2 separate regions of the Homo sapiens genome follow, and region 2 is linked to region 1. The links are contacts of gene promoters, found by promoter capture Hi-C in blood cells and fetal thymus (Javierre and others, 2016). All regions are on one chromosome and are shown on one strand. The core of a region is centred on a gene start or on the middle of the fragment in contact, and the rest is flanking DNA. Distances in the headings are between cores, read along the strand shown.

Region 1 (6,305 bases), core at 1,170-3,669:
TTACTATTTGGAACCAACATGTCATTTTAGGTGTACTAATTGTATAAATTAGTTTTAAGTGCAACTGACATTGTATATAATTACATTTTGGCCAAATCTAGCATGCTTGCTTTGTCATGCCTAATGATTAAATGATCACTTCCTTATCCTTACATGAAATGGGAAAATATTTTATTTATTTTTCTTCCTCACACAATTGATTTGCATAATGCCTAATGATGCCTAATGATGTGTTTACTATATATTGCTCCAAACAAGCCAAAACAGTCATTTTTATGGAGAAAAATCATCAAGTTCAGAGGAAAGCCTAGGCTACCATTTTGATACCTACAACTAGTTCATCTGATAATATTCCCCGGGCAGCCAGATGCCCCAGAGAAACAAGATACAGGTTTTTTTGTTTTTAATCAAATGACTCACCCACAATGACAGCGGTGACTGTGAGCAGCACAAAAGCATTCCGAAACAGGTAACTTTTAACATCCTCCTTTGTAATGTTCTGCACTTTCTTCTTGGCCAAAAGTGTGCGTTTACGGACTCCCTGCTGGAATCTCTCCATCCTGCCCCCCATCTTGGGCTCTTCTCCATTGCTTTTAGTCATATTTTACTTTTCTAGGAGGGTCTCTTCTTTGCACTTCAGTGTCTGGGAATCACCCACAGAAAGCCAAACCTCCTCTTTGGTATTAGAAAACACAACTAGAATGGGAGAAAAAGAGACATGAGTTATAGCCTCCAGGGGTGAGAAATCAGTGCTGCTCCACACCAGGCAAGCTCTTGGCAAATTGCATAATCTCAGCAGGAATCAAGGACTGGAGAGCCACAATACCAGACCTCAAGGTTGCAGTGTGCATATTTTAGTGGACCACGTGTGAGAAATGTGCATAAATTCGGAATATATTCTATTTTCTTTTTAAAAATCCGTCCTTCCCCTTCCAATGAGGCTATAAAAGGGTTCTTCAGAGCTAGATCTGACTGAGAACCCCTATTCCCACCCTCCCCCGCAGAACCCAGCTGATGCCTTGCACAACGTACACAATCAGTAAATGTCCAATTGAACTGAATGCACAGAAAGTATTCAATCATTACTTGACAAATTATGCTGTATACATGGTTGAAAGCATAACCAGGTCAATAAAAATAATTAAGATACTGATAGGTGGGAGTTGTCTCTGTTACATGCAGTAAAGTAACCAGCTATTTTCTTCATTAAGAAAAAAATATAATAATATCTACTAGTAAATATGGTCATAAAAAGAACACAAGTGCCCACAGTACATGGGAAATACATGTGACTATTTTACAGGGTAATTTTTTCATTTTTTTTCCATGAAATAAGCAAAGTGCTCTGGGCACATCTATAAATCATCTGAAATCACAATTCAGCTTCGTTTATCACAAGTAGAAGTATGAAGTAGTGTTTTTCTTTGTGACACACATGCTGGAATCTTCCGAGGAAACTATCGCTGACTTTTTAGCGTTTTAAAATTTAGGATTTCTAGAACAGATGAGATGAAACCAATTTTCATTCCAAACATTACAGCTTGTGGTTTCTGGTTTCTTTAAAGCACTCACGCTATTTAACTACATTTCAGTAAATCTCTTTCCTGGTGGAAATCAGCTGTTCTGAAAAATCAAGGGATTCCTCCTGGTGCTTTACAGGAGCTCTAATCCATAGCCCTTCCCATAATCAATCCGAGTGAAAACCAGCCGTACCATGGATGTGTGTCGCTGCCAACGCAAGCAGCCAGCGTGTGCGCCTGTGGGGGAGGTAACTGGAAACCAAAGGACTCCTCGCAAATGACTTCTCGCAATCCCAGTGCAGGAAAAAAAAAGACTTGTCTTAACAGTTTGCCTTTTAAATAAAATTGCAAGTTGGGGTCAGTGATACTAAGACTTCTAATTTGTTTAAGACTTCACACTGGATTAAATGCTTAGGGAGAAGTGAAGACCGGGAAATAGGAGAGACCAGATTTTTTTTTTTTTTAAACTAATAGCTCTGATTCCTCTTACCAGTCACTTTTAAGCAGATCCGCTCAACCTTGATCCTTTTCTAGATCTCGCGCCACAATCTGCCCCCAATCCACCCCGAATGACTCAACTCCGAATTAACAGCGGACCCGGCATAAACAGACACCACACTCTCACGACGTGAGATGACTAACAAGGACTTTATCTACCAAAATGGCTAGCCTTGATTCAGGCTACTCCTCTGCTTGGAAGGCAAAATACATCGGCAGAGAAGTGAAAGGAGAAATTAAACCCAGCAGGAACACAGAATGTGACACTTACCTTTTCTGATTTTGTAAGGGGTGGAAGATATCAAGCAGTAACGAGGTGAATTCCCCAGCAGGTACAACGGAGCAACAATCCGCAGCGCGCGTAAGCAGGCAGGCTAGCCCTGACAGTGTGCATGTGCTCTGAAACTGCAAGTTACTATCAGGGCAACTTAAGAAAAGGGGAGGAGTCTGTGCCCGGGAAAGGAGGAGTGGGGAATGGAAACCGCACAGGGAGGAGGGGGAAACCCCGAGGTTTCTGGAATATTGATTAATCTTGGCACACCAGAAGCAGGCTTGCTGGCTTTGTTTTGCTCCTTAGACCACTTTCACGCTTTGTCAGTTCACTGTCATTAGAAATGCAAAACCGGGACTAGGAAGAATTGAAAAATAAAGCGCACACAATCGGAAAGCTGAAAGTCTTGATTAGAACGTTTCAAAGACTTTTCTAAGGCTAAATTTAATTACCTCACATTATTGCATGTTTCCTCCCTTTCAGGGAAGACGAGGGTGTGCTCTTTAGCCTGGTTGTACAACTGTTACGAGAAAGTTCCTTTTTCGAATCGGGGAATTAACTGACGTTTCTTGGGAAGACACTGAATGCAGACAAGTATGTAGAAAAAAAATAATGCTTACTACGATTCTCTAAATTTGTCTAAAGTTAGGGACATGCCTCTATTTCAGCAGTTGAAACTTCAAAACTTCATTTTAACAAACCTAATTTAGCTCACACTGCCTGTGTTGCAAAGACGGAAAAGGTAGCAAATGTAAAGAGACTGGAATTTTTGCCAAACTAGAAAATGAAAAGCATTTTAAGACCAAGAGTGCAAAGTACACTTGAGATTTGGTGATTCAAAAGATAGGTTGCTGTTCAGATGTCTCCATTTTAAAGGATGCTAAATGTTCTCCCTACCACACACAACTTTTTTAGAGCTAAAAAATTCTCATTGCCTTGAGAAGGTAACTTGAGCTTCTAGTCCACTTTTCTTAAAAGAAAAATAAATTGTGAAAATAGATATTAGAAAATAAAAAAAAATTTTTTTGAGGTGACTTATTCCCAAAACTTAAATCTTCTTTAGAAGGAAGAAAATGGTTCATTAGAAACAAAAATTTATACCAGAATCACAGCCTGAGGTTTGGATTCTTGTTCACTGAATTTAATATTCCCCATGCAAAATATGCTCAATTCTTGGTCTATTATTCAACAAGAAAGTATGTCTTTTTTCCCCTCAATACAAATCTCTGGAGATCATAAAGAAATATCTCCTTTCACCCTCAACTGTATGTCCTTTTAAACAGCTACTGGTTGGAAAGCAATGGTGAATCATGTCAATGCTTTAAAATTACAAATCAGCAGCAATTATAACAGCTTTCTAACATGCTATCATTTTAAGAACTTACTGAAAGTACATGCTTTTGACATTCCCAGCCCTCAGTGACCCTTCCCTTCCTCTGATCTCCTAGGTCACTGAGCATCTATACTACATTGTTTAGCACTTAATTATACCATGTTTTGTACTGCATCCTTCTTTTTAAGCTCATGTTAAGTTTTGGTTTCTCAACTAAATTATAAGTTCTTTGAGGGCAAGAACTTGTCTTATACCTAATACAGAGTCAATATTAAGTAACTCTTTTTAAGTGGGTGGAATAATATTAGGATGTGAAACAAAACGCTTTTCAATCTTTTGTGTTAAAACACAATTACTAGTTTTTACATTGGTGCCTCTGGTTTAGGTGCATGGAGCCATTTCTCAATGCCATGACTACTTTTAAAAGCATTTATTTACTATACCAGGTCCTATCTGAGCCATGAGTTTAGGATTAATTTGCACACCCCCCCCCCCCACCGCTTTTTTTTTTTGGTGGAAATGACTTTGACTTGTATTGCAAGGGAACTCGAAAGAGAAATCTGATTTTAAATGGGGTTTCAAGCCCAGTGGCATTTCCATTTTTTGTTTTTATTTTTGTTAATAGGCAAGAAAAAGGGCTGGAAAACCACACTTTGGTTAGCATAGAGATGGGAAGACCCTGGTGCCCTTTCTTTTTCACTTTTTTTTTCCTCTCTAATCCCTAAAGCTTGGTTAAAAACCATTTCATTATTTCAGTTTGTGTAGACATTATGGGAGTCTGGTATTCTGTTGAGAAGGGAAGTAATTCACCACTGAAAGTTTTGTTGGCTGTAATAAAACCTAATGAGAAAATGAGATGCAAAGAGTCTCAGTTCAGAGTTCATCCAATTTTAGTCTGGAGGGAAACATTGGGAATTACTTCTTTAAGCACCACTTTCTCTTTCTGGAAAGCTATAGCAAAAGTCATGCCTGGGGGCCTCCTGGGTTTCCTCAACGCGTATTTCTACCTTTTCCCCTCTACTTTATAGTTAAGTCCCTTGAGCTTTAAAACATCTTTTTTTTTCCTTCTAGAAACACTAAATAAATGAAAGATCAAGAAATTATGAACAAGTCTCTGTATGCTGTATTTCATTTAAAGCTACTCAGGGTGGGAGACACAGAAGCTGGGGGATCATATTAATGTTAGTATTATCAAATGAAAAAAACACAAACACCAGCAGCAAATGCTGTTCCTGCTGAAAAAATCTGTCAAGATCTTTCTGTGAACATTGTGTGATGAAGTATGTTATCAGTAAATTCTTTCTTTGGGAAAAAATGTCAGTATAACAAGAAATAACCAAATCCAACCTGTCCTTAAAGGGAGCATTTATTGGTTTGAAGAACAAGAGATTACGGTAATAAGCACGTGCTGATCTTAGCATGGTACAGGCCAGTCAAACTTCACCATTCAAAATTAGGAAATTTTGGTTAATTGGATTTTTTTTTGAGCAACAAAATGGATTAGAAAACCTTTTAATCTTTTTTCAATATTTTCCAAGTTGATTTTTAATTTAATGATGGTTTTAAAATCATTCCTTGTTTAAATAGCTTGCATTTTAGGATCATCATGAATGTCAATTCTCCTCCTAGAATTTGGAAATTGTAGAATGCTAAGACAATGAACAGGACCTGACTTAACCCCAGAGTGTAACAGTGGATGTGTTAGAGGCAGTAGGTGTAGAAGAACTTGTGGTAGTTGTCTTCCATTTTGTTTTGATTTTTTTTTCTTCTTAAATATGAATGTAAAAAGCAGAACAACAAAAAAACCTGTGGTGAAGTCTGGTTAGTTGAATTTTTAAATAACTAGGTTTTATTTTAAAGTTATAGTCATATGAAACCTAAAAACATCCAACTACAGAGAGGTGAACTAAAATTAACTTTATCACATTCATTTATTCTTTCAACAAACATTGAGCAACCACTGTGTTCCAAATACCAGTTTCTTTCCTCAAGGAGTCCATAAACGCATCGTAATTATTAAGCAGTGGGCCAGGACAGGGCCCAACAGAAGGTTATGAGATCGCTGTGTGCTGAGGCCTATTTACCAGTTAGTATGTCAAAAAGACTGGTAGCAACTTAAGAGAAGGGGCTGTGCCTGGATCCACATTGTGTACACTGTTTCTAGCAGGTGCCTGCCCATAGCAGCCATCGTGTGGCATGGCAGGGAGCCAGTAGTGGTTCCTGCTGGAGAACAGGCCAGTAGGGGCCGAATTTACAACTTGAACTCCACTCCTAGTCAATGGGGAGCCAGCCACAGGATTTAAGCAGGGAAGTAATTTTCGTTTTAGGTAAAATGCAAAGCCTTGAAGTGACTAAGACTTGGGTTAGGAAGTCAAGGGGCAGGAGGAGCATTTACAAACTAGGTGAGTTCACATTCACACTGAAAAATACTGACCATTTGAGAATATCAAGGCCCTTGAAGGGGTCGGCTGACACTGAGCCAAGGCTGCCTCCTGTAGGTGGAGTGTGCACTCTCCAGCCCACTTGTCCTGCTCACTTCACTCAAGTTAGTTATCAGCATGTGGCTCTAGCAAGTTCTTCTGTTTTGACCTCTGATGGGGTTTCAGAAGAGGACTGAGCAAGGGCAGAAGCCTAGGGAACACCAACACAAAGGTGAAGACCAGCAAGAGGAACCCCCCCAAAT
Region 2 (6,305 bases), core at 1,788-4,287, 340 kb after region 1:
GATTCCTTTCATAATGAGCTCTATGCCTTCCACCTTGTAATACAGCATCTATGTATATATTTTTCCTCCACTGTGAGTTCCTCGAGGTCATCTTCATGGTTGATAGTGTCTTACATATGGTGACCACAAAATAAATATTTACTGTTGAATGGAATTGAATGGAAATTAATTTATCATCTTCATCAGATGTACTCATTTTTATTAATAGAAATAAAAAGATTTTTCTAAATTAGTGATACAGAAATTTTTCCAAAACAGCAAAACTCCAAATGAAAACAAAACAAAAAACCCACTTTCTTACTGACTTTAGTTTGCAATCTGCTTTTAGTGTCAACCTTGTCTCAGAAGCAAATGAGATGTTCATCCGTCACTAACCTCCCAACCTTCCCCCATTCTGGGCCAGGTAATAAAGAGTTTCTAGAACCTCAAGCCTGACACTGACTTTTCAAAATCATTCTTATTAATGATGACTTTTCTTTTTTAGCGATCATAAAATGCTGACACTTTAGAAATAAACAGAGGCCTTAGCAAAGTATGCATCGAAGAATACCTTATGAATTCTAACTTCACAAATTCTGAGTATATGTTTTTACCTTTGGTAGAAAGTTTGAACTTCATGTTTTTTTAGGATTTCACATTTATAACAGTATTATTTTATTTAAGGCAGCCCTATAAAAGTAAAAACAATTTGCATTATTTTACTTACTATTGTCCATCTACATAGTTTATAATGTAATAGCATTTAAAACATGCAATTATGCTTTAGATTCATATTTTAAGCTTAGCATAGAAATCCATTAAAATTTCCACTAATTAAAACATTACTCCTCTTTACTTGAAATTTATAATGTTTTGCTTAGTAAAACTGTTTTATCATAATAAAATATTTGAAATGGTTGGCATTTTCTCCACATTAAAATGATCTCTATTCTCATGTTTTTATTTCTACTAAACAATCAATTGCCTTTTCCAAGTTAAGTTTGCCACTAAGAAAGAAAAATTACAAACTACTCACTTCATTTGAATTGATCCCCCTCTACCCAGGAACTACAGAGTTTTTTCTTTCTTTCTTTCTTTTTTTTTTTTTTGAGACGGAGTCTGGCTCTGTCGCCCAGGCTAGAGTGCAATGGCGTGATCTCAGCTTACTGCAACCTCTGCCTCCCGGGTTTAAGTGACTCTCCTGCCTCAGCCTTCCAAGTAGCTGGGACTACAGGCGCACACCACCCATGCCCAGCTAATTTTTGTATTTTTAGTAGAGATGGGGTTTCACCATTTCGGCCAGGATGGTTTTGATCTCTTGACCTCGTGATCCGCCCACCTCGGCCTCCCAAAGTGCTGGGATTACAGTCGTGAGCCACCATGCCTGGCCTGAACAACAGAGTTTTTCAATGAATAAATCTGTATTCTTATTAATAATTGCAGGCATGACTGAGCAACAGTATATCAAGTAACTTTCAGATGCAGAAGAGACACCTTTTAGTGTCTCTAGTCCTTCTAACCTGACTGACAAGCTCAGACATTAAGAGAAACAGAGATCCTGGCTGGGCGTGTTGGCTCATGCCTGTAATATCAGCACTTTGAGAGGCCAAGGCAGGCAGATCTCTGCAGGCCAGGAGTTCGAAACCAGCGTGGCAAACATGGTGAAACCTGGTCTCTGCTAAAAATACAAAAATTAGCCGGGCATGGTGTTGCACGCCTGTAGTTCCAGCTACTTGGGGCGCTGAGGCAAGAGAATCGCTTGAACCCAGGAGGCAGAGGTTGCAGTGAGCCAAGGTCATGCCACTGCACTCCAGCTTGGATGACAGAGAGAGACTCAATCTCAAAGAAAAAAAAAAAAAGTGAGAGAGACATAGAAATAGAGATCCTAATCCCAGAGGCAAAGGTGTTCTGTTTTATTGTATTTATACATAAAACAAAGGAACGACTTTAAGTTATCTATGCACGTGCTTTAATTCATTTTTTACTGGACACTCACACAAAAAGAAAGATTATCATTCTGTTTTATGTTGTGCAGAATGTTAGTGGTGTTCAGCAGGAGAAAAATATGGCTCTTTTTTTGTTGATGTTCAATAATAAAGATCATAAAAAACATTAAATTGAACTCTGAAGTAGAGAAGGGATTCTACCCCAACATTTATAACACCTTAAAGAATACTTTGAAGAAGCAATTATTCTTTTCTCATTTTCATTAAATGCCAAAGGTTGCTGTTTCTGCAATTTGCAATGAAGAGGAGATCCCTTTGAAATGTATAGAAATTCTATACTCGGAGCCACCACCACAGTCTTACCCCACCAACATGTTTGTAGAAAAATAACTTAGCAGATTTGTCATCTTTACTTCTTTCTTCAGGTATACTCATTAAAAAGTCAGGGAGTGTGGGCAGACTTTGCTAACAGTTTTATAATATTCTATAAGAGCTATATATTAATGCCGGAGGGTTCATTACCAATTCAGATTTTGTAGTCTGTAGAATTTCTGACAGTGCACTATTTAAAGATTCAAAAAAAAGACTGCCTTTTCTGCTAGTCACCTAATTTTCACTTAGATATCTGAAAGTAAACAGAACTATGTAGCAGGACGCATCCGGCAATATCTTTTTTTTTTTTTTTTTTTTTTTGAAATGGAGTCTCGCTCCTGTCACACAGGCTGGAGTGCAGTGGTGCGATTTCAGCTCACTGCAACCTCCACCTCCTGGGTTCAAGAGATTCTCCTTCCTCAGCCTCCCGAGTAGCTGGGATTACAGGCACCTGCCACCACGCCCGGCTCATTATTTTTTGTATTTTTAGTAGAGACGGGGTTTCGCCATGTTGGCCAGGCTGGTCTCGAACTCCTGACCTCAGGTGATCCACCCGCCTTGGCCTCCCAAAGTGCTAGGATTACAGGCGCGAGCCACCGCGCCTGGCTGGCAATCCCATTTTTCGCAGAGCCAGTGCTCCAGAGGGCACTACCTACTACTCTGTTAGTGCCAATTGCGACATCTGCTGGTGAGTTCGGAATGGGATTGTTAAGCCCCAAATAGTGTAGAATCTGACACTCTTCTGTATTTAAAAAAATTTAAATATTTTTTCTTACAGTGAGGAAAAACAATGTTTTTATGACATCAGCTCTTGTGCAAAGTAGTGTTGATATAAAGAGTGCTGAACAAGGTATGTAGCTTCTATTTCAAGAACCTCAGAAATTGTATATTTTACCACCTATATTTTCATCTCCCTATATGTGTGCGTGTGTTGGGGGCATGGAGGTAGGTCAGAGTGACAAAACATGAAGAAATAATGCAAGTAAGCCAGGTTTCATGATCAAAATGAATAGTTATTGGGCAAAAGCTAGGCAGGGTGTGAATGTTGGGGAACTCAATGGTTATTTTGACTTGGATTAATTAACGCTAGTCCCTCATTTAAACATGACTTTAGAAAATAAGAATTATATTAATTAAAAATAGGGAGTAAAGGAATATTTCAGTAAACATATATTTATCCTTTAATTCTATTCTTTTAAGGTCCTGTGAAACATTCTAAACATGTTATTAGACCTGCTATTTTGCAGCTACCTCAAGCTCGAAGTTGTGCAAAAGTAAGAAAAACATTTGGACACAAGGCACTGGAATCTTGCAAGACTAAAGAAAAAACAAATAATAAGGTGAGAAAGCCCAGGATAACGGAACTGACCTCAATCCCTCATCTTTCTTTTTGCAGGTTGTTTGGGGCCCCCATATCCAGAAATAGGAGTTGTCTGAGCTTTGTTTTGTTGTTGGGCTAGATAGCATAAAGCCCTTGGTAAACTTTTCAAAGTTGTACTCTGACATTGGAGAGTTGTAGTCTCACAAATCTGTGGTCTCTCTAAAGTTGTAAAGTTGAGTACTGGGTAGTGGAAATCTGGGGGTCTTGTGCCAGAGCAATGACCCTGTGTGAGAATGGGGACAGCAATGAGGGAGCCAGGGGCCAGAGTCAGTAGTCAAAAAAGAGGCAGGGATTTTCTCTACATCGCCAACTGGTCAACATCACAGTGTATCGTTGCCAGTTTAGGTCATACCAGAGGTTCATTTCAGAGCCAAATTCCAGTATAACAGGAGCAGAGAACTCCCTATACAGTGTAGTTGGGAGGGTTTGGGAAGCCTCTAGAGACAGATAAGAATTCTAACTTCCAACTATGTAGTGTCTGAATCACTCTTTGTAGGCCTTTCTAAACAGACAGTAACTTACACAAGCCGTGCAGATATGGGTTTGGGGATATATTCAATTGCTGTAGTGCTACCTGTCTTCCAGCAGAAGCAGACACAGGAGGAATAGGACTCAAGATAGGTAGGTTGGAATTTGAGAGTTATTCCATCTTAGCCATTTGTTTCCAGCTGAACTACTGAGGATTGGTCACATAGTTTCGCTTTGTTTTCCCTTAGTGAACATAAGGACAGAAACACGGAAGTGTAAAAAAATACCAGATTGGTACTAATCTTGCCTCTGCTGCTATCTTTGTTTATCTAAACAAAGCACCCATTCAACATCTTTTTATATCAGCAAAGTAAGGGACTTGAACTTGATCAGCACTTTCCAATATTTTTATATTCCTAAACTCTTTACTTTGTAAGATATTATTTGGAGAGATCCATTATGAATTTAAAAAATCATTTCATCATTTATGCATGCTATATAAGTAATTTTTAAGTAAAACATGTCTTCAATTTTAGATAAGTATATTATTGTTTTCACTTAAATATAATGTAATAATTATCACCATGTTACATAATTCCTTACTTTTATTTAAGAAGTGAAGTGGCCAGGCGTGGTGGCTCACTCTTTTAATCCTAGCACTTCGGGAGGCCGAGATGAGTGGATCTCTTGAGCTAAAACGTTCCAGACAAGCCTAGGCAATATAGTAAAACACTGTCTTTACAAAAAATACAAAAATTAGCTGGGCATGGTGGCATGTGCCTGTAGTCCTAGCTTGAACCCGGGAAGTGGAGGTTGCAGTGAACCGAGATGGTACCAGCCTGGTGACAGAGCCAGACTGTCTCAAAAAAGAAAAGAGAAAAAAGAAGTGATGCATGGTGTTTAACTTGTTTTAAATTATGTAATAGAAAGTATAATATGTTGACTAATTTCTAAAAAGTTATATTGCATTTGATTTTAAAATGGCATGCACTATAAATATAGAGCAAGATTTTAATTACATGTTATGACATCAAAAATACATCAATATTTCTTTCTTGGCAGAATTTTTGTAAATATTGCATTGCATATTTTAAAATAAAATTTATTAATATATTTCTTCCATTTTCTTCTTAAATGATCCAAGCTTAAGAGAAAATTTCAAGCTATTGTTTATATTTATTTTTGAATAAATTATAAGGTCTAGGGAATAAACCTTATTTCCAGTTATTGAAAAGCCCTACTGTATATGCCCATCATTAAAAAGAAAATTTAATGCCCATCATTAAATTTTCCATTTATTGATCTTTGAAGATCCAGAGACACACTGTATATAAGATCCTATGTAAGAATTTTGACCAAATGAATGTAATTTAAAGATTTTGTGAAAACTATCTCTAGGTGGATTTTGTAGAACCATTATCTTTATATTTCTTATTATCTTGTATATCAAAATCAGATAAATTATTTTCATCCTATCATTAATCAATGGTTACTTACTATGTATAGATTAAACAATATATGCCTAAATAACTATTTTAACCAACATAGGAGTGAAAACTACCATTTTGGCTGAGAGATACATTATCTGAATGACTAGGTAATGAGCATGTACTTCGATCTTTGCCAACCATGGCACATGCTCTCTTGATACATATTTGTCAGTTGTCAAACTCTTGTTAAAAAAGAAAAAGTACTCAAAATTATTTTTATTGATTGAAATAAAAATTTAAGTGGAAACATAACCCATCTGGCTTTAAAAGACACAAACGCCCTGAAACATCTTTGCAAATTCCTGGTCGAGGAAGGAATTGTAAATACTAGATCAGATAATGTATAGGGTTCCTTCCAATTCTAAATTTCCTCACTCTTACATTTATATATTAATTCAGGTATTGTGCATACACATATGTACATAAGGCAAAGTAACTGGATAAGTTACTAGTTGAAAATTTCAAGATAAATAGATGAGTGGGGTTTTCTCTCACATTGGGTGACTAGGATGGTGACATTCTTAGGGTGTTTCCCAGGATTAAATAGTCCTGAAAAGAGCTTTACTAATCCAGAAATGAGAATTAACCCAATTTGACTAAAATGGCAAAAATAAACAAAACATGGTGGGATTTCTGAATATTATGATATTCCGGTATTAGACAGATCGC

Evidence for each region. Contacts are between HindIII fragments. The CHiCAGO score rates a contact against its expected background, and 5 or more counts as called.
Region 2: a fragment that was not itself captured here is called in contact with the fragment with the promoter of SLC1A3 in region 1 in 1 of 17 cell types (M0 macrophages); the score reaches 5.2 in M0 macrophages.

Annotation. Positions count from the first base shown.
Region 1 is chr5:36,602,720-36,609,024 of GRCh38, reverse strand. SLC1A3 (solute carrier family 1 member 3) reads right to left here and starts at 2,419. Exons shown (of 10, transcript NM_004172.5): 1 at 2,290-2,419; 2 at 421-696. The coding sequence starts at 601. RefSeq lists an enhancer at 2,213-2,312. The HindIII fragment of the contact is 8,493 bases long and covers 1-4,351 here.
Region 2 is chr5:36,262,291-36,268,595 of GRCh38, reverse strand. RANBP3L (RAN binding protein 3 like) reads left to right here. Exons shown (of 14, transcript NM_145000.5): 5 at 3,076-3,147; 6 at 3,498-3,637. The region is part of intron 1 of LOC124900962 (a long non-coding RNA gene); the gene reads right to left. Among named protein-coding and RNA genes, the nearest start is that of NADK2, 24 kb to the right of the region's middle. The HindIII fragment of the contact is 4,510 bases long and covers 783-5,292 here.